Linked DNA regions of Homo sapiens: all the other regions are linked to region 1. The links are contacts of gene promoters, found by promoter capture Hi-C in blood cells and fetal thymus (Javierre and others, 2016). All regions are on one chromosome and are shown on one strand. The core of a region is centred on a gene start or on the middle of the fragment in contact, and the rest is flanking DNA. Distances in the headings are between cores, read along the strand shown.

Evidence for each region. The method cuts DNA at HindIII sites, captures the fragments that hold promoters and counts their contacts. A CHiCAGO score of 5 or more calls a contact.
Region 2: a fragment that was not itself captured here is called in contact with the fragment with the promoter of NFKB1 in region 1 in 1 of 17 cell types (neutrophils); the score reaches 5.4 in neutrophils.
Region 3: a fragment that was not itself captured here is called in contact with the fragment with the promoter of NFKB1 in region 1 in 8 of 17 cell types (total B cells, erythroblasts, naive B cells and 5 more); the score reaches 10.6 in total B cells.
Region 4: a fragment that was not itself captured here is called in contact with the fragment with the promoter of NFKB1 in region 1 in 13 of 17 cell types (total B cells, erythroblasts, naive B cells and 10 more); the score reaches 11.5 in total B cells.

Annotation. Positions count from the first base shown.
Region 1 is chr4:102,498,456-102,505,792 of GRCh38, reverse strand. NFKB1 (nuclear factor kappa B subunit 1) reads right to left here and starts at 4,434. Exons shown (of 24, transcript NM_003998.4): 1 at 4,005-4,434. NFKB1-AS1 (NFKB1 antisense RNA 1) reads left to right here and starts at 3,307. Exons shown (of 5, transcript NR_136202.1): 1 at 3,307-3,354. RefSeq lists an enhancer at 3,755-3,804 and silencers at 3,915-4,484, 4,495-4,754. The HindIII fragment of the contact is 5,238 bases long and covers 138-5,375 here.
Region 2 is chr4:103,106,611-103,113,947 of GRCh38, reverse strand. CENPE (centromere protein E) reads left to right here. Exons shown (of 49, transcript NM_001813.3): 47 at 2,937-3,120; 48 at 4,859-5,145. Among named protein-coding and RNA genes, the nearest start is that of BDH2, 10 kb to the right of the region's middle. The HindIII fragment of the contact is 6,795 bases long and covers 1-5,939 here.
Region 3 is chr4:103,058,896-103,066,232 of GRCh38, reverse strand. The region is part of intron 3 of SLC9B2 (solute carrier family 9 member B2); the gene reads left to right. Among named protein-coding and RNA genes, the nearest start is that of SLC9B2, 14 kb to the left of the region's middle. The HindIII fragment of the contact is 2,943 bases long and covers 2,517-5,459 here.
Region 4 is chr4:103,026,030-103,033,366 of GRCh38, reverse strand. It overlaps SLC9B2 (solute carrier family 9 member B2), which reads left to right. Exons shown (of 12, transcript NM_178833.7): 10 at 1,559-1,667; 11 at 4,484-4,620; 12 at 6,776-7,337. The coding sequence ends at 6,997. Among named protein-coding and RNA genes, the nearest start is that of SLC9B1, 10 kb to the right of the region's middle. The HindIII fragment of the contact is 2,118 bases long and covers 1,461-3,578 here.

The DNA of each region.
Region 1 (7,337 bases), core at 3,185-5,684:
TATTTCTTTCGTCAGTATTGATTAGATATTATTTATTTTTAGTTAAACTAGAGTATTTGATTCTCTCAAACAGCTTTTTCTTTATTTCATTTTTTATAATTTTGGCTATTTTAAAGAATAAATTCTTTTCTAAAGCTTAAGCAGTCAAAATTTGTCACAGTTTAAACTAATAGGATCCATAGATGAACTCAAGTCTGTTGATATCTACTGAAGGCATGGGTCAAAATAAAAGCTATTTTAAGGTTTCTGGATTAATGGTGAAAGATGAATGAAAAATAATAAGGCAATTTGTAATGGATAATTAAACCAAATATATCATTATTCTAATTTCAAAAACAGGCAATAAATTAAAGCAGATGAAATTTGTATTACTGATAATTAATTCTGTTTGTTACTACAGAAAATATGACACAATAAAAATTGTTTTCTTTTTAAAATGTAAAATGCACTATTTTTATTATTAGTACTCTAAATTAAACAAATATTTTCATCCATAATCTATCTTCTGAGATTTCTATAATCTTTAACAAATCACATCTTATGTGACTCTTATTCTGTACAGAACTGTCAGGCTTTAAATTATTTGAGGTGTAGCAATGCAATTTGCACAACTTATTTTCTAAACTGTTGGCTGATCTTCAAGGCCAGGTCAACAACCTCCGGAAATGTAAAAGACAGTATATTAATTTGCACCCAGGAACAACCCCTAATACAGCAGAGACCAAAGGTATGAAGCAATTTCATCATCATTAAAAGAATGTTACTACTTTTTTCTCTTTTTTTCTTCTAAAAGTGAGGCACTGGATACTAATTAATGAAATACTACAAAGATAAAAGGCTTGGTTATGTTACCAGAACTATTAACTGTCCAAATTATGTGGTTTCAAATATTAATCTTTTTTGATTAAAAAAATTCACAGTCAAGGAGCCAAACTGACTTGCAGGACTATGCCAAAACGTTCAAACCTTTCTCCCTGAGGCTGAGTACCTTCAGTTCTTCCAAACTGTCTGTCTCCAAAGTAGTGACAAAATTCAAAGAGAGATCATATGCTCTTGATGGTTTATTGCTGACCTCTAAGAACACTACAAGTGAGTTCAGTATTTATGGGAGGTGCAAGAGTGCAAATGAGAACTAATTCCCAAAAAGCAGAGTAAATTGCTCCAGTATGGTCTACTGTTTACCAAGACGTAGTCATCAATTAATGCTGATTAGACACAAATGTAGATGTAGGAGCAGAACATCTTAACATATCCTCTAGCACTAACTTCTATTTTTCCTTCTCCTTCTCTTCTAATATAACAATCCCACTACTGTAGACAATTCACCTTGTAAACAGAAAACCAACAGACCAACCGAATAAAACAAACTTCCTACTAAAAGTAAGAAAATTAATGAGAAATTTTGCATAGACATCCATTCCTGTTAATGTGATTTCTGATCAATCTGTGGACCAGAAGAGCATAATCTGAGAATTTACTCTATTGGTTATACAACAGTACTGTGCATTTCCAGATACACTTCCTACTGCAGTCAATTCTATACTCAGAATAGCACATCTACTAAGACCCGAAGATGCAAAAGATGACATTTTGAGTACTTCATCAAAAATCCATACAGCAACTCAGATACAATTATTTTACTGTTTGAAAATATCGACTACTTTTCTTACTTCTCCCAAGTTCAAACCAATTGAAGGTTATGAAGTAACCACTTCCCCCCAGAAGCCAGAACTTTCACCTCTTCTGAACAGAGAAATACCTCTCATAAATTAGGTAAAAATAAGGTCTTGCTGATGGAATGATAGTCCAACATTCATGTAGCTGCCAATTCCCTATCTAGACCTCGTATCTACCACAATGAGCAATCCCTGAAAGTCAAGGTAGTAACTTACTTAATCAATTATCTGCAAGTCTAAAAGTGTAGTTAAAACAACCTGCATAAATATTAGTTTCTCAAACTACTTCAATTTGTTTCCAGGAACAGTAACAACAGAAATGTAAGGAATATAATCACTAAATCTAAAATTCTGCCTATTTCAGATTAATTGTGCTTTAATCAACTCAATCAACACAGATCTTGTTTAAGAGGTAGAGTAAAAAGGAAGTGCAAAGATCAAAGCAATGCTTACAAAGGGGAAGGACTATTTTTGTATGTATACCCCCAGTATTTACTATCTGGGTTTGAAAAACACGGGCATTTACTCAGCACAAGTGAGTGCCAATGCCTAACATAAGAATGAAATTTCAGCAAAAAGATAATAGATTTTCACATCACCACCAACCCCTAAAAGGATTATACTACCTTCTTTAAAAAGTCTCAAAGAGTTTAGAAGTGGTTTGCTTTTCACTGCAAGCAGCTTTTCGGTTCCAGTATTAAATGTACATATAACGTGTGTTCCTTTGTGTTCAAGTTTGTCCAGTAGGCTGCAGCCCAGGAAGACATTTTATCTAAACAAGCAGGGGAGGGCATTTAGGAATTGCAGGTGTATCAATATGGATGAATAATCTCAGATTCCAAGTCTCCATTAATCGTACATGTTCTTTCCATTTTAGCAATTCAATTAAATCATGAATGTAAAATTCTACAGGAAACAAATCTTTTTATTTCCTGTCTTCCCAAGTTTATAAACTCAAAAAAGTACATTGCTTCAAATTTAAATACATACATTTAAATACATAATTCCTATAGTGCCTCAAACAGTAAAAGGATTCATCTCTAGAAAGCACAATATTAAAATCAGAAAAACAACATACTTTAGTTTTAAGTTTCCCTTTTAAAGTTTTAACAAACACGAATGCAGTTTAAACTGCTTGACAATATTCAGTTGTGGGATTCTGCTAGAAAAAAATTATTGAATATCTTGACCCTAACCTTTACTATTTACTAAAAGATCACCAGTATGTAGAATATTTTGATGCCAGAGCTATTAAATGTTTTAGTAATACCATAAGCATTTTTTCAGATTATGAGCTTTATAAAAAAATCTTTGAGTTAAATATGGTTATTTCATAAACTGTAATGCTGAAAACCTCTACTTAACAAAGTCCATGAACATGTCAATCTTGATAATTAAATCCTGTATCATTAAGTCCCATTTGAGTTTCAGGATAAACCAGCAAGTCAGGGCAAACATTCCCTGGTGTCTGTTTTTAAGGACCATAGAAAAACTTGCATTTAGGATAGGCCTTGTTTTTACATTATTTTTGTTTCAGCGGTCATGCATAATGCATGGTGGCACTGTCCAAGAGTTTTACATAATCAAGTCTAAAAAGTGCTCTAAGTATCCAGGTAGGTAATTTATTTTCTCTCTCAAATGCCAGGCCCCGGAGGATCAGAATCAAGTCCTATAGCAGGTGACTATATCGTGTGTGTGTGTGTGTGTGTGTGTGTGTGTGTGTGTGCGCGCGCGCGCGCGCACGGAGGGGGGGAGGGGGGAGAGAGAGAGAGACAGAGAGCGAGCCAGGTTTCTTTTAGAAGTAGGAGAGGGATGAATAGACTCTCCTATTCAATTCTGGGGAGCTGGGGAGGGCTTTCCCAGCCAAGAGGACTGACAAGCACTTCTGCTTTCATTTCATGGAACGCCCTTAGGTGAAATCTGGTTCTGCACTGCACCAACCACCTTCCCTCTCTCCTCCGCGCCGCAGCGCACTCCAACCTTCTCACCATCCCCCAGGTGGGGCTGGGGTTGGGGATTTTAAAAGTTTGTAAGAGTTCCCCTCCGGTTCGCGTTCCCGCCCCGCGGAGGGACGTGAAGAGAAATGACCGCCGGGCGGCCGCGGCCCTTCGGCCGACTAGCCCCTGCGAGGTCCGGATGTGTCTTTCCCCGCTGTCGCTAATCCCATGTGCCTCTCAGCTACTGTCAACCTCCTCCCACGGTCTAGCCCAGCGGTTAGCGCAGGAATGAGGAAGTCCGAGTGGGGCTGGAGGGGGTGCGGAGGGCTGGGCGGCAGGACTTGGGCCACGCGTCCCCTGCCGGGCCCCCACTCGCCCGAGTTTGGCTTACCCGGGTGGCGAGTCCGCGTTCGGCCTCCTGGCGCGGGTGGGCTCTCCCTCCTAAGCGGCGCGGGCCTGCCGGCTGGAGAAGGAAGAGGCGGCGGCAGGCCGGAGCCCGGGCGGGCCCGAGTGCGGGTCGGGGCGAGCGGGAGCGCGGCGGGGCCGGGCCAGGCCAGTCAGCGCCGCGCCATGGCCGCAGCGCGGGCGGAGGGAAGCGCAGGGCGCGCGGTGGCCGGGCGGCGGCGCCGCCTTACTGGCCGGGCGGCTGCGGCCTCGGCGGCGCTGGGCTCCGGGAGCGGGGCCGGTGGCTGCGTGCAGGCCGAGGGCTGCGGCGGCTGGCGGCCCGACCGACGGGAAGGGCAGGGGAAGCTGTCAGCGCGTCGCCGGGCCGCTCCGGTGGCGAAACCTCCTCTTCCTGCCCCGGCTCGCTGGTGCACTTCTCTCTCTTTCTGTCTCGCTCACTCTCTCACTTCCTGGCTGGAAATTCCCACTGACGTCGAGAGAGCATACAGACAGACGGACACACGCGCGCACGCAGCGGGGGCGGGAGGTAGGGTCGCTGCCGGGGGTGGGGGAAGCCCGCACTTCTAGGGGCGCTGTGCGCCCCCGGCCCGGCCTTGCCGCTCGCCTCGGCTCCCGCCCCTCGGGGCCGCTTCGGGGCGCCGGGCGAGGGGCGCGCGTTAGGCGGCCTGGACGCCGCGGCCCCTGCGGGGCTCTGGCTTCCTAGCAGGGCGCTCCCGAATCCCAAGGGCTGGAGCCGGTAGGGAAGCCCCCAGGAAGCGCCTGCCGGGCCCAATCAATGGTCGGGGAACGCAGGCAGCACGGAGGCGGCGGCGGTGGCAGTGCCGCTGATAGAGTCATGCGGTCCATAGCCCCTAAGGGCAGGCCCGAGCAGCTGGAGGGTCGGCATGGATCCAAGCATGCCAGATATAAAAATAAAGCTCATCTGTATATTCCATTTAAGCGTGTCTCAGTTACATTCACATCTCTTCACAGATTAAACTACAATTTCGTTATCATAAACGACTTGTGCCCAGTAAAGTATAACCCTCTACTGGTTTTTGGTGCGGTCTTAAATCTCCTGGTTATAGAGCAGTTACTCAGAATGTTCATCTACAAGGCATTGTTAGGCCTTTATGATAATTACTGTGGATAGAATTATAGTGATGGTGGTAGCAATGGTTTTGGTTCACAGCTCATAAAATACTGATCTGGCAGAGGGGAGTTTTCTTTTTCTCTGAAGAGACCGCTACTGGCACCCACTGACAGGCCTCCCAGTGGCCACCATTCACTGGCATCTGAGCTGCTTTAGTGCTGGGCACTGTATTAGGTACAGGCTGGGGATACCTTCGGGTGGATTACCTCCCCACATAAGAAAGCTTGAGCCGAAATATATATTTTAGAGCTCATTGTTTCACTACTGGGTGGAGTGACAACTGAAAGCTTAGCTTTAAAACATCAGTAATCAGGTCCTCACCAGGCAATATTGCAGTGGCATTTAGATTGCTTATGGCATGTTCATCCTAGTCCTTTCGTGCCCACTCTCCATCCTCCTCCTCCAGTAGGTTATAAAAACCTTCTTGGTGGAGTGTTTTTCTGGAAAAAAAAAATAAACAAAAAAAACCCACACACACAAAAACCCAGCGATCCATTTGATTGCCTATGAGGTGAGTCTCCGAGGCGACCTTGGAGGCCCCAACAGTCGACCTTTAAGTGATCTCATTTAGCTCCGGGAGGCTGAGCAGCTGGAATTTAGAGGATCCATAAAGACTGAACACAATGACTTTTTAAGAAATTCTGTGAGCCGGGTGCGGTGGCTCACACCTGTAATCCCAGCACTTTGGGAGGCCAAGGCGGGTGGATCCCCTGAGGTCAGGAGTTTGAGACCAGCCTGACCAATATGGTGAAACCCCATCTCTACTAACAATACAAAAAAATTAGCCGGGCGTGGTGGCGGGCGCCTGTAATCCCAGCTACTCCAGAGGCTGAGGCAGGAGAATCGCTTGAACCCTGGAGGCAGAGGTTGCAGTGAGCCAAGATTGCGCCACTGCACTCCAGCCTGGGCGAGACAGAGCGATACTCTGAGAAAGAAAGAAAGAGAGAGGGAGGGAGAGAGGGAGGGAGGGAGGGAGGTGTGAGCATACACACTCTACTTTTCATTCTGCAAGGGGTGGCAGCCCCATTACCAAAAGATAGATAAATACAATTGTTATAAGAGTAGAGCCAGTGTGACATATTTGGGAGTAAAAAATGAAGAGCGTTAATTACTGAAAAGGATTAAATCAAACTCCAAACTCAAAATGATTCCATAAAATGAACTTAAAATTCAGGGTAGGGTGTTGAGCAGGCATATTTTCCTGGGGCTGCTGTAAAAATTTACCACCGACTGAACAGCTTACAACGGGAATTTATTCTGTCACAGTCCTGGAGCCTAAAATTCTGAACTCAAGGTGCCATTAAGGCCATGATCCCTCTGAAGGCTCTAGGGAAGAATCCTTTGCCTCCTCCTAGCTTCTGGTAGCTCCAGCAATCCTTGCCATTCTTGGCTTGGCTGCAACACTCCATTCTGTGCCTACATTGTCACATGGTCTCCTTCCCCGTGTTTCCTTTGTGTCGCTATATTCAACTCTCCCTCACCTTTCTTTTATGAAGACACCAGTCATTGGATTTAGAGCCCACCCCAATCCAGTATTACCTCATCTTAACTTGATAACATTTGCAAAGATCCTAGTTCCAAATAAACTCATGTTCACAGGTACCTGTGGTTAGGACTTGAACATATGTTTTGGGGGGATGTAATTCCATGCAGCACAGCAGGCAAAACTATAAAAGCTTTTTGGCTTGCTGATTAACCCTCCTCCATTCCTGCTTTGTTACCCAACATTTTCTCTACACTGTACAAACCTGCTTCCAGGAATATCTCTTACAAATTCATCCATCCTAAGGTGTCAGAAGGTATTTGCCATTATCAGGCTACGAAGAGGAAAAAAATGCCTCAATGTGGAATTTCAGACATCAATATTGTCTAAAAGACAAGTTATTTTGTGTTTGTCACTTGTCTTAGTTCATTTGTGTTGCTATGGCAGAATACACAAGACTAGGTAGCTTATAATGAAAAGAGGTTTATTAGGCTCACAGTCTTCAGACTGTACAAGAAGCATGGCACCAGCATATGCGTCTGGTGAGGGCCTCAGGCTGCTTCCACTCAATGGAAGGCAAAGGCGGGTGGTGTGTGCAGAGAGATCGTATGGCGAGAGAGAGGGGAGAGATGCCAAACTTTTTAGCAACCAGCTCTCATAGGAACTAATGCAGTGAGAACTCACTCATCCTCTCCTCCTTGCAG
Region 2 (7,337 bases), core at 1,293-3,792, 610 kb before region 1:
AATATACATGCATTCCTCAAACTACCTTTATTCATATTCTGTCTGTCATGTTCCATTTGAAAAGAAAGAATGCTTGAACAGTACTTGAGATAGCTTTACGCAGTAGAACAAGTACTGAACTAAGATGCAGATCTCAATGGCTATATGAAATCGTGGGGTTAGCACCTGACCTTCTAACTTATAAGCATATATGTATGCTTATATATATACTTATTATAAGTATATATACACTTATAAGTATATATACACTTATTATACATATATAAGTATACATAATAAATATATAAGTATATATAGTATAAGTGTATAATATATAAGTAATATATCTATTACTTCTTTATTACTTACATGAGTAATATATAAGTAATATAAAATATATATTACTTATATATTATATATTATATATAAGTTATATATTATATATAATATATATTATAATATATATAAGTATAACATATATAAGTAATATATAAGTTATATATTATATATAAGTAATATGTAAGTAATATATATAAGTAATATATAAGTATATATAGTAAATACTTATATAATTAGAAGTATTATACTTATAAGTCTATAGAAGTATATATACGAGTATATGTACTTATATACTCATACATACTTTTTTACAGGAGAATAAACAGAACTGCTGTGAAGGATTTTCTAATATATACATATATATGTATACACTTATATATACTTATAAGTATATATACACATATACTTAAAAGTATATATATACACTTATATACTTATAAGTATATATACACTTATATACTTATAAGTATATATACACTTATATACTTATAAGTATATATACACATATACTTATAAGTATATATATACACTTATATATACACTTATATACTTATAAGTATATATATACACTTATATACTTATAAGTATATATATACACTTATATACTTATAAGTATATATATACACTTATATACTTATAAGTATATATATACACTTATATACTTATAAGTATATATATACACTTATATACTTATAAGTATATATGTACACTTATATACTTATAAGTATATATGTACACTTATATACTTATAAGTATATATGTACACTTATATACTTATAAGTATATATATACACTTATATACTTATAAGTATATATATACACTTATATACTTATAAGTATATATATACACTTATATACTTATAAGTATATATATACACTTATATACTTATAAGTATATATATACACTTATATACTTATAAGTATATATATACACTTATATATACTTACAAGTATATATGCAGACTTATATATACTTATAAGTATATATCCACTTATATATACTTACAAGTATATATACAGACTTATATATACTTATAAGTATGTATACATTTATAAGTATATATACATACATACACATATATACTTATAAGTGTATATATGTATATGTATATGTGTATATATACATGTATACATAAGTATACTTAGTATATATAAGTATATATGTATAGATATGTATATATAAGTATATGTATGTATAAGTATATAAGTATATACATATATATGTAAGTGTATATTTGTGCGTGCACATGTATATATGTGTATATACTTACATATATATACTTATATATAAGTGTATATATATATACACTTATAAGTATATAGTACAAGCAAATATCTTATGTTTTGCTTAGTATTTGGAATTTTCAATATGCAATATATATTATATATAATACTTATATATTTACAGAATATATAGAATTCTGTATATTATATGTTACAGGATACATATAAGTGTATACACATATATATGCATGTGCACACATATATATAGTTATGCTCACACATATATATGGACATGGTATATGCACATATTTTTTGCAGGTAGTAACACTTCAGTCATGGGGAAAGTAATTTTTAGAGCTCATGTAATAAGTGTCTTTTTTAAAAAAGTGTATATACATATACACTTATTTATATACATGCACACGCACACACACGTACATAAAGATCAAACCGAAAGTTGTGGGTAAAAACACATTGAAAATTCCAAATACTAAGCAAAACATAAGATGATATTTGCTTGTATTATAGTCCACTTGTTTCCAAAAATAGATGGTGCTAAAGGTGTTAAGGTGTTACCTAGTACCTGTTGTAGCTTAAACTTCCCTAGTGTCTGTTACAGGATAACCACAGCACCTACCGAGAAAACTTAAAGGGGTAAAAATAGAAGTGAGGATTCTTTGTTTCAGAAGGTTGAGGATATTTATTCTTGATTTGTAGATGACTTTCAGGTACATAGTGTAGATGAATTCAAAATAAAATAGACATCAAGAATCACCCCCAACACACACACTATCCCTCTTTTGTGAATTCCCAGTGACCTAATGGATTAATCCACTTCATAACTATCTCACATTTTGTGCAACTTTGCCTACAATTTACAAAACACAGTCTCTTTACACACATAGTGTAGAATATTTAATATGTGCTTTAATATTATTGTAACATATATTTAGTTAATAATATGTATTGAATACATATAATGCACTGAATGACGGGGTGGCCCTCCCACCCTACCTCACCTCCCCGCCACACACGCAGTGTGTTGTAACAAGCCCTTCAGGGGAAAACTGATGTAGAAAATATAGATCAATAAAGGACAGCAGTAAGTGGAGAGGATTGCTATTGCTGCAGTCAGGGTGAAAGAGCTTGGTGATCAGGATCAGGATATGTTAGTGGAATTGGTTGAGGGGGATTCTAGAGGCATAGAATTAATGGTTGGTCAAATAAGCAGAGGGAGTAAGGTAGAAGGCAGAAGTCAAGGGTGACTTCCAGGGAAATAAGACTTGAGCTGTTTGGGTCTCTATAATGGCTTATTGTACTTGGTAGTATTTCCTTTATTTTGAACTTTGGAGACAATTAAAATTATCACCTATTTGTATATTTTCCTCCCACAGTGATATCAGAACATACTGATCCTCAGCCTTCAAATAAACCCTTAACTTGTGGAGGTGGCAGCGGCATTGTACAAAACACAAAAGCTCTTATTTTGAAAAGTGAACATATAAGGCTAGAAAAAGAAATTTCTAAGTTAAAGCAGCAAAATGAACAGCTAATAAAACAAAAGAATGAATTGTTAAGGTAAGATCTGCTTACATGATACGGATATTATGCTTACGGCTATTACATATATGTAGGGACATGGTATATGCACGTATTTTTTGCAGGTGGTAACACTTCAGTCATTATGGGGAAAGTAATTTTTAGAGCTCAGGTAATAAGTATCTTTTTTAAAAAATGAGAATATGGTAGCACTATTCCAATGTTTGCTGTCTATCAACTGACCAATTCTTAACCAAGGCAAGAAATAGGAAAGAAACAAAGACCTTTGAGGGGGCAGCTGAAATACACCACAAGTCCATATACCCAAGCCAGTGAGGCTTTACTTAGAGAGGAACTCCTTACGTCCATTATTGTAGGCTTTTTACTTTATAAACAGATCTAACAAATTATTCGGCTTCTACCACGTGGAAGAGTAGAATCTTTTCCCCAAGCACTCTACTATGATACAGTAGAAAAAAAAGCGTTAAATAATTTTACAAATAACTAACTCTGCCATGAGTGCTATTAAAAAAGAAACAAAAACAAAAAGGACATTATAAAAGGGTTATATTATGAAAGAGAGAGATCCAACGTTATCTAGGTGTTAGGGGTGGAGGGTTGGTTGATCAGGAAGCCAACAAACAGGCATACCTCGTTTTATTGCACTTATCTTTCTACTATACACACTGGGAACCCAAAAGATTTCCGCGATTCACTTTATTTCAGTGATCTGGAAACAAACCTGCAATATCTCCAAGGTATGCCTATATCAGAATAGATATGAAAAATGAGTAGGAATTAGGCTAGATGAGGGAAGAAGGATAAGTTTTCCAGGCCAGGGGAACATGTTCACGGGCTTTGAGTTAAGAAGAATAACTAATTGGTGGGACTGAAAGACATCCAGTGTGGCCAGAATGTAGAGAATGAGACAGAGTAAAGTGCAAGACAAGGTGCCAGAGGTAACTAGATTCAGATTACATGGGCCCTTATAGTTCATTTTGAAGAATATGGAGTGGTATCCTAAATGTAATGGCAGGATTACCTGCACTGGAGGGTTTTAAGCTAGTGGCCTGATGAGATCATATAGCATCTTTGGCTGCTAGAGCATTATAGAGGGATCAAATTTTAGAATGTGTTTATGGTAGTTCAGACAAAAAGTAATTTTAGCATGGACTAGCTTGGCCCCAATAGGGATAAAAACAAGGAAGTGAATTTGATAGATAGGATGAGAGTGTATCAAGAGACTTGGATGACTTAAAATAAAAGAGAGTGAGGTCTCTAGGATTGCTTCCCAGGTTTCTCTCCGGAGGAACTGGATAAATGCTGGTGGCATCTCCTGTAAGAAGCAGCATTGTAACTAGAAAAGCACAGTGTAATATTTATTTTACAGTAAGAAAGGTACATCAAAGATTCATCTATCCAGGAGACTAATTTGTCAAATTATTGTGGCAAAGCATCAATAGATAAGCCACTCTGGATTATATCATTGATTCATTTGAAAACCTAATGTTGTACTTAGAGCTTTCTTTTCAAGACTCCATGATCATGGAAACTTACTATATTATTCAATTTATATAGATCCATTTTGTTTTCTGAACTTTGAAAATAGTCAAAACAGGAAGCATGAGGTTGAAATTAAAATGTAAATGTGATAAAATGTACATTTTATGTTATATATATTTCATCACAATTTATTTTTAATTTTTAAATATAAATGTGAATACATCTTAAGAATCAAGAAGTCTTACAGTCTCTCTTTTCTTCCCCCACATTTAAGCAATAATCAGCATCTTTCCAATGAGGTCAAAACTTGGAAGGAAAGAACCCTTAAAAGAGAGGCTCACAAACAAGTAACTTGTGAGAATTCTCCAAAGTCTCCTAAAGTGACTGGAACAGCTTCTAAAAAGAAACAAATTACACCCTCTCAATGCAAGGAACGGAATTTACAAGATCCTGTGCCAAAGGAATCACCAAAATCTTGTTTTTTTGATAGCCGATCAAAGTCTTTACCATCACCTCATCCAGTTCGCTATTTTGATAACTCAAGTTTAGGCCTTTGTCCAGGTAAGTAAATATACTGGTTACTTGGAAATCAGAGGGTAACAGTTGGAACTTATCATTAATATGTGATCCCAAAGGGCAAGTTTAGATAAGAGATGATTTAGTTGAGTAAGCTACAATGACAGGCTTCATTTGCTGACTCTGTAAGAAAGTTGATTTCTCCAAGGCACCCCACACAGTGAAGTGCAATTCACTTTTACCCCAAGTGAAGTCTTTAGTCTACCCTTTAAGCCTTTAGTTTCGTCCAAAGAGAGACAAGCAACTTTCTCAAGGACATGAAGATACTACCCTAAAAAGCAACTTTTACTGAAAAGTCTTATCAATTCAATGGACCAAAATATCCAATAGCATTATATTTACTTTACCCAAGCCAGATAATAGATGAATCATTTACTTATTCATTTATTCAGTCAATAAAATTGTTTTGAGCCCCTACTATGTGTTAAGGATTAGATCCTGGTGGCACATTGATAAGCAAAACCAGACATGATCCCTGCCTTCATAGAGCTTAATTCTCATGGAAGATACAGACAGTAATCAAGTGATTAAAAAAAAAAAAAAGTGAAATTATAGCAGTGCAAGTACAAAAGACTATGAGAAATATAATAAGTATTTGAGGAGTATTGAGGAAGGAAACAGATCAGATCTAAAAGGTTAACATGAGTTATCTTAATAAAGAGCAGAGGGAAAAACATCTCAGGCAGATGGAACAGCAACAGCGTTAGGGTAGGTGGGAACATGACCAGGGGAAGAGTTGAAAGAAATATGGTGTGGTCAGAGCACAGTGAGTACAAGCTTGTGTGGGTGAAGTCAGTGAGGCCAAAGAGAGAAATAAGAGCCAGAAATGCTGGACTTTTATAAATTATATAAAGGAATTGTTTCATTTATTGTGTAGAGGAAGCCTTTGAAAGATCTTAAGCAATGGCAGGAGAACATGAGTTATACATTTTGAAAACATCACCTCGTCTCTAAGGTGACCAGCAAATAATAGGAGCAGGAGTTAGACTGTTGTCTAAACAAGACATGATGGTAGTGTGGACTTGGAGTAGAGAAGGAGAGAAGTAGACCGACGGGAGAGATTTTGGAGTAAAATCAGCAACACCAGGCACCTGATTGAACAAAGGAGTGGGGAGGTATCAAGGATCACCCCCAGCTCTGCATGGAGGTTGTCCACAGAAGTGGGGGGACTTGCAGGAGAAACGGTAACACGGCATTTCTTGTAGTCTTTCTCACCACATAGCATCTACTGTGCACAGCCCTTTGTGACAGTGTGTCTGCCTACCCTACCAGAGGTACCCTGTTATGCAACTGTAGAAATCTAAAGCAACAAAATTGTACAGTAAGAAAGGCAGTTGCCAAATCATTTAAAACCTTGAGCACTATTTGCCAGAGTTTATAAACCTCTACTTTGTGATTAAGAAAAAATCTATCCATTCTCATCAACTACATCAAAATTAGATCAAGTTGACAGTCTAAAAGTGTTCTTAGGGAGATAGGTAGGCACAGAAACATTTGGAATAAAAACATGTTTGAAATATTCTCTTCATTAAATAGTATTTAACAAACATTTAAGGACCTTCTATTGGCTAGCTAACACTTGCATGGAACTCTCTCACTATGTTGCCCAAACTGGCCTTGAACTCCTAGGCTCAAGCAATCCTCCTAAGCATCAAGGACTACAGGTGCATGCTAGCTACCACACCCAGCTGTAATCACCTTTTGATTTTGTCTGCTAGTGCCAGAGGCATATGCATAATGTGAATTCATCAAACTGCAAATAAAAATGTTTGAGTCCTTTTTTAATATGTGGATCTCTCTGGTACTGTTTTTAGATAAATAAAAGAGTAGCCTAGAAGAATACATAAATCAAAAACTGACCAATTCAGAATTAAATGAGATAGTCCCAGCTTGAATTAATACCAGTCTTTAAAAAAATAAATGTGAGTTTTTACTTTTAATTATAAAAGGTAATCTAAATTACCTTAAACTAAGGTAATTGCCAAGACCAGTTATGGTAGATTTACTTTTATAAATATAATAATTGTAAAATAAATATTGTTTATAAGCAAATAGATGCAGCTAAAGTCCTTTTTAAAGGCTCACAGAAAGCTTTCCAAAGATGATTAAATATTCTCTAAAATACTATTTGTTTAGCACACCATTTATTTTGAAAAACAGGACAAAAGAAAACTCAA
Region 3 (7,337 bases), core at 2,739-5,238, 560 kb before region 1:
TTCTCCCAAACATAAAAACTAGTTGGTGAACAATTCACACACATGGGTGGCTCTGCTCCACACATTCAAGGGAAGGACCTAGACTAACAGGGCTCCACTGTCTTCACCTTGGCTTTCAGGATCACTGTGGTCACCACCATTGTGGGAAGGGGGAAGGAACACAGATCAAGGACCTTTTCCTTTACTATATCTGAGTAATTTCACAGGATTACGTTAGGACTGTAAAACACTACATAAACGTTTGTTGTTATTACTGTTAAGTAATGCAAGTAATATTTTAGCAAACACAGCCCCATTTATACTTCCAGATGAATCCTATTACTTTATAAGTAAGAATATTGGTTTGCAATTCAGCTTATTTTAGTAGAGTTGCTGTTACATAAGACATTTGGGGGATTTTTCTTTGGGAGTTTATCTCAGCACTATTTTGAAAATTTTTAGGCTTGTATATGTTTGTCTTTCAGGAATGGATTTGGTCTTTGAAGGAAGCCAAAGGTTATTCTGCCATCAATTTGATAAATATATGGAAGTTCAGATTGATTTATGCCCTATTTTTCTTCAGAAATGAATTGTGTGCATATGTGTGTCTGTGCTGTGTATGCTGGGGGAATATGTGATAAAGCAGAAAAAAGAAGAGATTTGAAAATTATCTATAAAGGCAAATTAGGTTTTTTTAAGAAGACAGTATTCTTTTATTGAGACTTAAAATTTATTTTATTTTTTACATTGATAGATAAAATTGTATGTATTTACCATGTGCAACATGATGTTTTGAAGTATGTATACATACTGGAATGACTAATTTTAGCTAATTAACATATGTATTACCTCACATAGCTGTCATTTTTTGTGGTGAGAACACAATACATTCACTGTTAGTATTTTTCAAGAATACAATATATTTATTAACTACAGTCTTCATGTTGTTCAATAGACCTCTTAAACTTATTCCTCCTGTCTAACTGAAATTTTGTATCCTGTGACCAACAACCCAATATATATCACCCAATATACTTGAGTTATATGTGTGTGTGTGTGTGTGTGTGTGTGTGCGTGTGTGTACATTTTTTTTTTCATGGATCTTCAGATTTAAAGTCTAGAGAAAATTACATGTCAAGGCATTGGTCATGGTCTTCCTGCCACTTTCACCTCCCCCACCCAACCTTTTTTTTCCTGGAGACAGGATCTTGTTATGTTGCCCAGGTTTGTCTTGAACTCCTAAGCTCAAGGGATCCTCCCACCTCAGCTTCCCAAGTAGCTTGTTACAGATGTATACCACTGCATCTGGCAAAACTAGTTTTAACCGGCCAACTTTTAAATGCCTGGAATCTATCCACAATTTTTCACTTTTATAAATCATATTTTCAAAAGATAAAGATAATTTTAACATCAAAATATAAAAAGAATTGTTCAAAAACATAAACATCCATTCATCAGCATTATTTATTTATTTTTATTTTTGACACATATTTGTACATATTTGTGGGGTACAATATGATGTTTCAATACATGTATATATTATATAATGATCAAATCTAGCTAATTAGCATATCTAACACATGAAGCATTTATCGTTTCTTCATGGTGAGAACATAGAAAATCTTCTGTTTTGAGGTATACAATACCTTATTCCTGACTATAGTCACGTTGCTGTGGTACAGAACAAACTACTCTTCCTATCTAATTATCACTTTGTACCTGTTGACCACTCTCTCCCCATAACCCCAAGCTCCTCCCCTCCCCAGTCCCTGGTAATCACCATTCTATTTACTATTTCCATATGAACAACTGTTTTAGATTCTACATATGAGTGAGAACATGCAGTATTTGTCTCTCTGTGCCTGGCTTACTTCACTTAGCATAATGTCCTCCAGGTTCATCCATGTTGTTGCAAATGACAGGATTTCATTCTTTTTTATGGCTGAAAAGCATATCATTGTGTATATACACATATTTTCTTCATCCAGTCATTCATTGTTGGACACTTAGGGTTGATTCCATATCTTGGCTATTGTGAATAGTACTGCAATAAACATGGGAGTGCAGAAATCTCTTCAACATACCGATTTCATTTCCTTTGGATACATACCCAGTAATGGGATTGCAGGATCATATGGTAGTACCATTTTTACTTTTTTGAGGACTCTCCATACCATTTTCCATAATAGTGGTATTAATTTACATTCCCACCAATAGTGCACAGAGTTACCTTTTCTCTACATCCTTGCCAACCCCTTGTTATCTTTTGTCTTTTTGATAATAGCCATCCTGACAGGCATGAGGTGAAATGTTGAACATTTTTTCCTATACCTGTTTGGCCATTTGTATGTCTTCTTTTGAAAAATTCAGGTCTTTGCCCATTTTAAATTGGATTATTTGTTTTCCTGCTATTGAGTTTTTTGAGTTCCTTTTATATTCTGGACATTAACTCCTTGCCAGGTACATAGTTTGCAACTGCTCTCTCCCATTCTGTAGGTTGTCTCTTCACTCCGTGGATTGTTTACTGTGCAAAAGCTTTTTAGTTTGGTGTAATCTGGTTTGTCTGTTCTTGCTTTTGTTGCCTATATTTTTGGAGTCATATCCAAAAAGTTATTGCTCAGACCAGTGTCATGGAGCTTTTTATTTATGTTTTTTTTCTAATAGTTTCATAATTTTATGTCTTACTAAATTTGCCTTTTAAAGAAAATTTAAAGGCAATTTCAAAAATTGTGTTCAAGAATAATAGCATCATTGAAGTAAATATATGGATGCCCACATATGTTTACTGAAAAATGAGACTCAATTCCATAGTTATACTTTGTGGGCTCTGAAAGACATGTTTACCATTATCATCTGGGACAATGAAAGATAAGCATAATATACTATACTTTAGGCTCTAGATGTGTTTTTAATGAAACCAAGTCAGTTTACTTAACTAAGCATGGAAGAAAATCTCAAACTTAGAACATGTACAGAAAACCAGAATCCAAAAATATACACTAGCTGATAAGATCACAGATAATTGAATACCTTTTCTGTTCTTTTCATTATTTTTTTAAACTTTTATTATTCAAAATATGGCCTACTTATAGTTAAAACGTTTACAATGAAACAGATATGGACTGACATAAGGAAAGAGTAAAAATGAATAATGTAATTTTGGGACACATTTTTTAAAAATGTATAATCGTTCATAAAGCAGCCTGAAAAATGAGGTTCATGGTAGATAAACATCTCATCGCTTATTTTTCTGTTCTTCTGTTCCAGAGGTTTACAAGACGACTTTTGTCCTATATTTTTTCCTGTGCCTATGCAGTATATATCAGTATTCTTCTTAAAAAGTAGGCTGGGCACAGTGGCTCAAACCTGTAATCCCAGCACTTTAGGAGGCCAAGGCAGGTGGATGACGAGGTCAGGAGTTCAAGACCAGCCTGGCTAACATAGTGAAACCTCATCTCCACTAAAAATACAAAAAATTAGCCATGCATGGTGGTGGGTGCCTGTAATTGCAGCTACTTAGGAGGCTGAGACAGGAGAATCACTTGAACCTGGGAGGCGGAGGTTGAGATCGTGCCATTGCACTGCAGCCTGGGTGACAAGAGTGAAACTGTCTCAAAAAATAAAAATAAAAAAAGTAAATCTTACATGTGAAAATTTGTGGTTTTCCATAATCGTAAATGAGAAGTAAATTGTTAACTGATTTAAACATGATTTAGAGAAACCTTATAGACATACCATTTGCTATGTATTTACAACTGTGTTTCAAGTAAAGCACAGGGAAAGAGAGATTTTTTTAATAGTCTTGAAGTAGAAAAATCTCTCTTTTTTTTTTTTTGAGATGGAGTCTCACTCTGTTGCCCAGGCTGGAGTGCAATGGCTCGATCTCGGCTCACTGCAAGCTCCACCTCCTGGGTTCAAGCAATTCTCCTTCCTCAGCCTCCTGAATAGCTGGGATTACAGGCACGTGCCACCATGCCCGGCTAATTTTTGTATTTAGTAGAGACGGGGTTTCACCATGTTGGTCAGGCTGGTCTCGAACTTCTGACCTCATGATCCGCCTGCCTCGGCGTCTCCCAAAGCGCTGGGATTACAGGCGTGAGCCACTGCGCCCAGCCGAAAAGAGAAAACACTTAATTCTACCTTGCTGAATTTAATATTAGCTTGGGTTTATGCTATGATAAAGTATAATTTAGTATAATAGCTGGCAAATCCTGCTTTCCCATTCTACCTCTGATATCGCATAGAAATTTCAACCCTTGTAGCTAATTGGAAAATACTGGAAGTCCCTTAGGTATTCCACTGCAGTAGTATCATAAGCCTAGAAAATCTGGAACAATTCTGTGAGGGTTTAGAAAAAGGGACATTGAATTCAGTCTCTAGCAGTATGGTAGATGAGACTCAATGAACAATCTTGTCACAAACCAAGGACATCATCTGAAAAAATGTTTTAAGTCTTTTGAAATGATCTGTCAAGAAAACAGGGAATCATCAGACACCAAAACCAAAGTGTAAGTAGCAGAGGTCAGTAAGCACTCAAGGTGGCCCCACCCTGGAGGTTTCTACCAAACCTCAGGGAACTTTTTTTTTAATTATTATTATACTTTAAGTTTTAGGGTACATGTGCACGACGTCCAGGTTTGATACATATGTATACATGTGCCATGTTGGTGTGCAGCACCCATTAACTCGTCATTTAACATTAGGTATATCTCCTATTGCTATCCCTCCCTCCTACCCCCACCCCACAACAGGCCCCGGTGTGTGATATTCCCCTTCCTGTGTCCATGTGTTCTCATTGTTCAATTCCCACCTATGAGTGAGAATATGCGGTGTTTGGTTTTTTGTCCTTGCAATAGTTTGCTGAGAATGATGGTTTCCAGCTTCATCCACGTCCCTACAAAGGACATGAACTCATCATTTTTTATGACTGCATAGTATTCCATGGTGTGTATGTGCCACATTTTCTTAATCCAGTCTATCATTGTTGGACATTTGGCTTGGTTCCAAGTCTTTGCTATTGTGAATAGTGCCTCAATAAACGTACGTGTGCATGTGTCTTTATAGCAGCATGTTTTATAATCTTTTGGGTATATACCAGTAATGGGATGGCTGGGTCAAATGGTATTTCTAGTTCTAGATCCACCTCAGGGAATTTGAGATTGATTTTGAGAGCGCTGTGAGCACAGGAGGCTAAGCTAGAGCCTGCCCAGGTTGGGAGAAGTCTAACAGGAAAAAGCATTCTCCTTCACCCATATAAAGTTGAAACCCAGTGTGATGCCAAATTTGAGGTAAATCTGTTCTGCAGATGGGGCCTCTGACTAAACCTGTCTCAACTGTAGTTGCTGGCTGGGGCAGGTGTGGAGTCGCCAATAAAAATGTTTAACTTCATCCTGATTTGTCTCCAATTTCACAGAAAAAATTCAATTTGAAAATGTATCTATTTTCAAAAAACATTTTCAGATGGTCTTGGATGGGAAGCTTTTAAGTACATGGTAGAAGTAAATTCATTCCCATCTGGGAAAACTCATTCAACCTAAGGCTTCAACAAAGTTAGACAAAGTTCCAAGGGAGAGCTCACTGTTGCAAAAGACAAACTAAAAAGTTTAGTTTTAGACAAAGTTCCAAGGGAGAGCTCACTATTGCAAAAAACAAACTAGACAAAGTTCCAAGGGAGAGCTCACTATTGCAAAAAAACTAAAAAAAAAAAAAAAACAAACAAAAAAAACATGCAAAAGGAAACAAAAAAACAGATTTCAAAAATGTACATTATCAGAAAACAGAATATAAGACATTTATATATATAAAGAAGTTAAGAATTAGAAAACATGAGTACAAAACAAGTAACTTTTAAAAATGAATAGATTTGAAGAAGAACCAACTTGAACTTCTAGAAATGAAAGATATAGGATAGTAATTGAAATTAAAAACTCACTGGACAAATTAGGCAGCAGATTAAGTGAAAAAAATGGTGAACTGGCAAATAAATGTGAAGAGATTATCTAGAATGCAGTACACACAAAGATGAAAGATACGAAAACTAGGGTTAGCAACATGGAAAAAGAGAATGGGGAAGAGGAAATCTTTGAAGAAATAAAGGCTAAGAATTTTCCAGAACTGATTTTTTTTAAAAAACATAAATCTTAAGCAAAACAAAAGGAAGTCACACCTAAACACATCATACTGAAAGGAAAACCAAAGAAAAAGAGAAGATGTTGAAAACAAGGAAAAAGAATTCCTTTAAAAAGCTGAAATCAGGCTCTTCAAAACCAGAAAACCAAGGAATAGTATTTTCAAGGAATGGAGAAACAATAACACTCAACCTAGAATTTAACATAAAACTGAGGTATACCTAGAAAAACTATCCTTTAAGAATGAGAATAAAGATAATTCCAGATGATACAACTAAGAATTTACTGTAACAGATTCTCCTGAGAAATACAACATGCTGTGATACAGAGTGTTTCTATGTCATGAATTAGCTCATATGCAATGGTAAATAGAATTTTGTTAGAGTGTATGGAATTTGCAGTTTTGTGTATAATTTTTCCTGGCCCATAATATTTTGTATCGTCAAGCAATAGCAAGTGAAGGCAAAGTGAACTGGGGAAGAAAAGACCAAATATATGCTTTCTTACAATTAAAGATAAAGCCTTCCCTGCATGAGGACCTTTTAAAGGACGAAATCTCTGTGGAAGTGCTGACTTTTCATGCAATTAGTAGCTGGTTTAGGGGCTTCAAGGACTCAAACATTCTACAACATTAAGCTATCTAATAAAACACATGTGGATGAAGCGGCTGAGAGTATAAGCTGAGGTAAAGAAGCTGCCAACGCTTTTCCTTTTGTTGAAATTTATTGTATTGAGGCAGAGGGCTAAAATATGGATCAGATTTTGATGGAACTGCTCTCTGTTTAAAGAAAATACCCTCAAGAATTTCCATCTTGAAGTAGGAAATGGGAGGCCAGGTTTAAGTCTGTAAAGAACAGACTGCCTGTATGGGACACAAATGTCAGTGTGTAGATTCATCTGTGCTAAGACTCTTATTAGGATTGTTTTGGTTTTTCTTAGTGCTTTGGCCACCAGTTTTGAGTGGTCTGCCCCAACTCTCTTTTTCCCATAAACTTTTCAATTTTTAGTGCACAGTTTTGTAAAACACAAGTTTTCAAATGGAAACATTTCACTTTTTTTTTGGCAGGGTATCGCTGTGTAACACAGGCTGGAGTGCAGTGGTGCAATCGTAGCACACTGCATCCTCAAACTTCTGGGCTCAAGGGATCCTCCTGCCTCAGCTTCCCGAGTAGCTGGGATTACAGATGCCCACCACCATACCCAGATAATTTTTATATTTTATATTTAGTA
Region 4 (7,337 bases), core at 1,270-3,769, 530 kb before region 1:
ATTCTGGTTCTCAAAAGGAATGCTTCCAGCTTTTGCCTATTCAGTATGATGATGCTGTCTCTGGGTTCATTGCCCATTTTTCTGTTAGGATCTATGTCTTTTTTTTATTGATTGGCCAATGTTTCTTATTCTGTTACACATGGTACAGATATTTTCTTCTAGTTTGTCACTTTTTTGGTTTATGGCTTCTTTTGCCACAAAACATTTTGATGTTACTCTAGTCAATTGTGTCACTGTTTTCCTAGAGTCTTTTGCATTATGTGTTACAAAGTTAGTTCTTGTATCAATTAGGGTCCTATGAGGAAAGAGAAATCAAATAGTAACTGGAATAGGAAAAGTTGATTATTAACCACACCAGGGATTCCAGTAACAAGGTATTGGCTAGTAAGATGTGAAGACATCCTTAAAGAATATGAGAATAGCACCTATGGCTATAATAGATCATCCCCTTAAGCCTGTACCCTCCACATTCCTGCCTGCAGGGCTGAGATCCAGACTCTGTTAGAGCCTAGAGAAGTCGCTGTGGTGCTGTGCTTGCAGAATTTGCTGAAAATCTACCCTCCCAATTTGCAGGAGATCCATCCCCTTGGGTGCATGGGGAAGTATCTTGCTCAAGAGAATCTGCTACGAAACTGCCCCAGGGGTATGCTAGGGAATGTAATGGCCACTAGGTGCTGCTGGTTGCATGAATTGTAGGACCCTGATACTGGAGAAGCCACCTGGGATGCAGGAACCTAGAGCTAAGGCCACCAGTGCATGCTATAAGATCTTGCTAGGAAGAGCCACAGAAACCAGGAAGAAAAGCACCTTCAGCTTGCAATATCTCTTTAGCACACTCTACTGACAAAGTTTAACATGGTGCTACCTGGCAAAGGAAAAATATTTTAAAGGCCCAGCTCCATTTTCTGTGGAGCAACAGTGAAAGAGGAGCTGGAGATAATGGGCAATAAAGTGATAATTGGCACTGATAATCACTTTAGTAAACCTGGATTTTATTTTTGTGCGTGATTTGAGATAACCTTAAACAGTATTTTTTGTACAGATAAAATTGGAAACAATTTAAAGATCTGTCAATAAAGAAATGATTGAATAAACTATGGTACTTCTATACTGTAGATCACTATGCAGCAGTAATAGGGGCATATCTAGATATATGTACCAATATTGCAAGCTCTCTAAATCATATTGTTGAAGGAAAGTCGACATAAAATTTTAAACTACAAAACACTACTATATATTACAATATGTATACACACATGCACATACACACGATGTATTCAGAAGTAGGAGTCCTCATAAGATTACTTTATAAGAATCTTTTTATTAATATCCATGTGCAAACTAATATTTAGTATGCTAAAACACCTCATGTATCTTAACTGTGATAGAAAGATCTTCATGCAGTTTTTTTGCTCTGTTCTAGCTAACCTTTTAGTTATAGATGGCACAGAAATAAAGCTTATCTCAGGCCAAATAATTCAAACCTCAAATTAATAAAATTCTTTGCATTTGTAACTTCACATAATAAAAATCTGTGTGTGTTTTATTGTTATTTTAGGCAGAGGTTGAAAAGATAATTGCAGTTGCCTGGGACATTTTTCAGCCCCTTCTTTTTGGACTAATTGGAGCAGAGGTATCTATTGCATCTCTCAGACCAGAAACTGTAGGTAAGAATTTCAAAATGTGCTTTTGTTAAAATTCACTTTTTTTGGTCAGCCTACTCACCAATAAAGTCTACTTTTTATATTCATTGAAATATCTCCAGCAGGTATGTGTACAGTGGTTACTATTGTCACAATTATATAAAAAGTTAATTATGATGTAAGTTTTTTAGAGTAGTTGGTTAGAAAATAATGCTTGTTCATCTAAGATGGTATATTTTACACATTTAATATTGTTCCTTGTATATGAAAGTGACACTGCTGACCACTACCCAGAAAATTCAGGCCTTAACAATTCTTTTTCCAAGGGTAAGAATATTCATCTAGCCTTGTCCTGAACAAGAGCGAGAATTTTAAAGACAACTAGTTAGTTCTATAGTTTGTACCCATGGGATAGAAATGCCTTGTTGTTCATTAATTATTTTATTTATTCCTACATTCAAAAGCCATCATATTAAAACTCTGTTGATTCAAAACACTGCACTTAAAAATTAATTTGTATATATGTACTCATTATTTCCTTCTTTCCTTCCATCACAGTATTCTTCCATCCATACTAGGAATCCCATCTCCCGCTACTCCTTCTGAATCTTGCATATGGATTCTTTCCTTTTCTCATACATCTTAAATATCCATGTCGCAATTTTCTTCTCTTCAGAATTTAGTCTCCAATCTCTCTTATCTTAAAAAAAAATGCTTCTCTTCTGACACATGCTGCAACATGGATGAACCTTGAGAACATTATGCTAAGCGAAATAAGCCAGTCAGAAAAAGACTAACCCTGTATGATTCCACTTACATGAGGTATCCAGAGTAGTCAGACTCATAAATGGTACTTGCCAGGGGCTGGGAGTAAAGGGAAATTGTTGTTTAATGGGTATAGAGTTTAAATTCTGTGAGATGAAAAAATTCTGGAGATTGGTTGCATAATAGTGTGAATATACTTAATGATACTAACTATACACATAAAAATGGTTAAGATGGTAAATGTTATGTGTATTTTACTACAATTAAAATAATGTATATTAAAATAATATGTTAAAATTATATATATATAAAATTCCTCTATTTCACTTCCCCCCGTCTCTACCATGCTACCTCTCTTGTCTTCTTTTCGGACTTTTCAAAAGAGGTCACTACATTCCCCTTTCCACTTCAGTTCCCATTTCCTCCTTCTATACATTTTAGCCCAGCTTCTGCCTATCACACAACCTGCCAACCTCTCACACAACCTGCCAGCCTCTCACCAAGGTAATATTGCTAAATCCAGTCTTTGCTTTACTTGATCTGTCAGCAGCATTTGCTGCTTTTGACCCTCTAACACTCCTTTATATTAAGTTCTTAAACTTCCTATTTCCCAGTGCTGTTTGAGCCTTTCCTTACACCATATGTAGCTTAAATGCTGCCCTTTATCAAATTGCTTTCTAACTTTGTGCCTCTGGCTCTATATAACTTCTCTAACCTTATCTATACTAGTGACATCAACTATAAACTGTATAATTCCAAACTATTTATCTCTAAATCAATATATCCAATTGTTGATTGGACAGCACCACTTGTATGTCCTGTTAACGTTCAAACTCAACTAAAACTTCCTTCTCATCCTCTTCTCAAACTTTCAATGTTTCCTTCTGGGAATGATATCAACTCTTTATCTTGTACTTCAGGCTACAGATATTTTTGAATACTTTCCAACCTTGAAGAAATACCTTTCAACAAAGAACCACAAAACTTTCCCATAAAAAAGCCATATGGCAGATTTACAATAGATCCTCCCGCTATGTCTGTCTGATGTTTTACCCGCCCTTTGAATTTGAGAAAACTACTTATCCTTTCTGAGCTTCTGGTTTTTTCAACTATAAAATAATACTTACTCCACGGGTTGTAAGGACTAAGTAAAATAATACATTTAAAGCTTAGTACAGCATTTGGCACAGAGTAAACACTCAACAAATGTTACTTTTTAAAAAATCACCCTAATACTCAGGAGTCACCTTAGCTGTATCATTCTTAGGTCCAGTAGCATGTAGCAGCACTACTCACAATCCCTTGTTTGGCAAATGATGATGAACTTGTCTTTATCAGCAAAGAATTCTACAGGACTAAATGGAGTAGCTGTGTATGTTAACCAGGGATAATTGGGACCAGTACGACCAGTACACATCAGTATGGTGAAACAGTGGTAGACTGCCAGTGTCTATTCTGATTGGTCAGTGCCCAGCCAGCTCTGATTGGCTAATTCCCTCCATACTGGCTCATAAATATTTTAGCTATCACTTCTGGTCTTATACCCTGTAAAGAATTATTGACTTTTTGGGTTAAAATATTGTTTTTCCCTCTTTTATGCCCTTAGTTTGTTTATACCTCACTTACTGTATAGTCTATGAATTGGTTGTTTATGTGTCTTTCTCTGACTTTGAGGCAAAGTCTATACATTGTACATTTATGTGTACACAGTACTTAGTTTAAAGCTTATTACTTATCATTTAATCATATCATTTAATAAATTCTTCTTACACACATGAACAAGCATGGTTCTTGCTATAAAGCATAAGACATATATAACATTCAAATCTCTACATAAGAATTCAAATATGCTTAATTTCTGGTTTTAATCTACAGAAACACCTTATTTTAAACAAATAGCCTGATTGATCCTTAATATTGATTGTTTTTATATATTCTTCCTAAACATTTTTGTATTTGTAATTTTTAATGCTTTAAAAATTATTTCTGTTGATGGTTATTTTGAATTAGTAACCATGAGATGCAGTTTCTCTCCTAGTATTTTATTATTTCTAAAAATTGAATATTTCTTACAGGCCTTTGTGTTGCCACCGTAGGCATTGCAGTATTGATACGAATTTTGACTACATTTCTGATGGTGTGTTTTGCTGGTTTTAACTTAAAAGAAAAGATATTTATTTCTTTTGCATGGCTTCCAAAGGCCACAGTTCAGGTATGATGGATAGGATGGCTTAGCATTTTAACTGCTATTTCTGCATGACACCTTGAAATATTGAATAAGAGGGCTTGTTTAAATTTAGTGAAAATAAATAATTGAAGTGGATTTATGAAAAGAGTTTATCCTAATCTATTCTTTAAAACCTGTATTTTTGGTATATTCATTCCTTAAATGTGATAGCTCATTAAATTTCCTTAGATCACCAGGGTATAAGTAAAAATCCAGTAAATCCCTATTCTACTAGAAAGCAGTAGTAACAGGAGAGAAGAGTTTTCATCAGTCGGCACTCTGTAAGTCACCCAAGGAAAGAGTTCTTAACTCTTTTCATGTTAATAGCTTCCAAGAAGAGAGTAAAATAGAAATAACATGGTTCCCTTAATGTTTGGAGATATTTTAATGTTAATATGATTGATGATCAGTTGAGCTTGACCAGAGTCTTTGTATGTAATGGAGAAAAGATTTATTGAAAAACAACTCAGAAAGCACTTTATTGATTTCCTAGATTATTAGTTGGTATTAATTATTCAAAACTCACTGAACTTCCTGGCAAATGTCTCAATCACTTAACCGAAAATTTGTGCATTCTAATAAACGTGATAAATAAAGCTATTATAGATAGGTGCTTGAATTTGTTGACCATGCATTTGTTAGAATATCTATGATTGCTAATTAAGTTAGAACTGTATAGATTATGATTTGTTGCAAATGTGATGTATCTTTGGTTGTATATTTTCAGACTAATTACATCAAACAACATTTAACTGTTTTGCCCCAGATTATTTTATAATTAAATATTCCAATTTCTGTTATTAAGGAATTAAAATCAAGTGTTTTTCATTTAGGAGGCTTTGGGGGATGTGTATGCTCAGCAGTTATATTCCAGATTTCAATTATGCTCTTTGCATTTGGGCATTACTCCAGAATTCCCCTCACCCCTATCAGACTTTCAAAAATGTCTAAAACATAATGGCTAAGAGTTCTATAAAAAGGTCTCTGGACAGCAATGTGACCAGCCAAACTCCAGGAGTTCTATTATAGAAGGGAAAGGGGTCATTCATGTTTTTGTGAGCAACTAGTAGTTTCTGCCATTGTTTCTGATGCACATTTTTCTTTTTCATTGTCTTAGAGGCTTACATTGTTCTCTGTGGAATAAGGGATAACCAGATTAATTAATACATTTTTCCCATCTGCACTGATAATATTGCATTTTGCCTCTAAAAGAAACTGAGAATTTTCATAATGTTTTCCAACAGATGCATTCCAAATAAAACATTTCACCAAATTCTGTGGCAAGGAGTTGACCAAATACCTAATAAGATCAACTTCAAGTTGTCAAGGTGTCCACTATTTTCATGTTTCATGACGTTTGACAATGAGTTTAAGCTCTAAAGTAATATATATTTATTTAAAATTTAACAGTTTTCAGTAGGTATCACTGCATGTTTTTCATCTTATTTTTTAGTTCCACATTCCTAAAGATAAAAGGAGATGACCAGTAATTTCCATCTTTATTCAGGAAAAATTTAGTACATAGAACTTTATGTTATATTTAATTAATATTGTGATTCTGGATTTGCTTTGTGTTTTGAAATGTATTTTACTGATATTTATGTAACCCTACCTTACACAGATAAGTACAAATGAGTCATCAGTATGTTCCCATGCAAGGGCAGAGTTTTTAGATCATCAGAACCAGCTGGGCTGGGCACAGTGACTTACACCTGTAATCCCAGCACTTGGGAGGCTAAGGAGGGAGGATCACTTGAGGCCAGGAGTTCAAGACCAGTCTGGGCAACACAGCGAGACCCTGTCTCTAAAAAAGTAAAAAAACAAAACAAAACAAAACCTGCAATACACTTTGAAAGAATACTAAAACAACTTTCTTTTTTTTTATTTTATTATTATTATACTTTAAGTTTTAGGGTACATGTGCACAACGTGCAGGTTTGTTATATATGTATACATGTGCCATGTTGGTGTGCTGCACCCATTAACTCGTCATTTAGCATTAGGTATATCTCCTGATGCTTACAACTTTCTTAGTTGAGCAAAAGAACAAGCAATTTGCTTTTGCAAACAATAAAAAACTCACTTTTTTTATATGTGCTTATCTTATCATGATTCCATTTTTACCCTTAAACTTTTATAGGCTGCAATAGGATCTGTGGCTTTGGACACAGCAAGGTCACATGGAGAGAAACAATTAGAAGACTATGGAATGGATGTGTTGACAGTGGCATTTTTGTCCATCCTCATCACAGCCCCAATTGGAAGTCTGCTTATTGGTTTACTGGGCCCCAGGCTTCTGCAGAAAGTTGAACATCAAAATAAAGATGAAGAAGTTCAAGGAGAGACTTCTGTGCAAGTTTAGAGGTGAAAAGAGAGAGTGCTGAACATAATGTTTAGAAAGCTGCTACTTTTTTCAAGATGCATATTGAAATATGTAATGTTTAAGCTTAAAATGTAATAGAACCAAAAGTGTAGCTGTTTCTTTAAACAGCATTTTTAGCCCTTGCTCTTTCCATGTGGGTGGTAATGATCTATATCACCAACCTTAATCTCTCTGCCTTTTTTTTCAAACACCCCTTCATCATCCATCTTAATTTGCATAAGGACATATCTACTTTAATGTACTACCACAGTTTACAGTTAATGTGGGAAAGACCAGCTTCAGTATCCTCTTCAGCTAGGATTGCCCTAACTTTTAACTT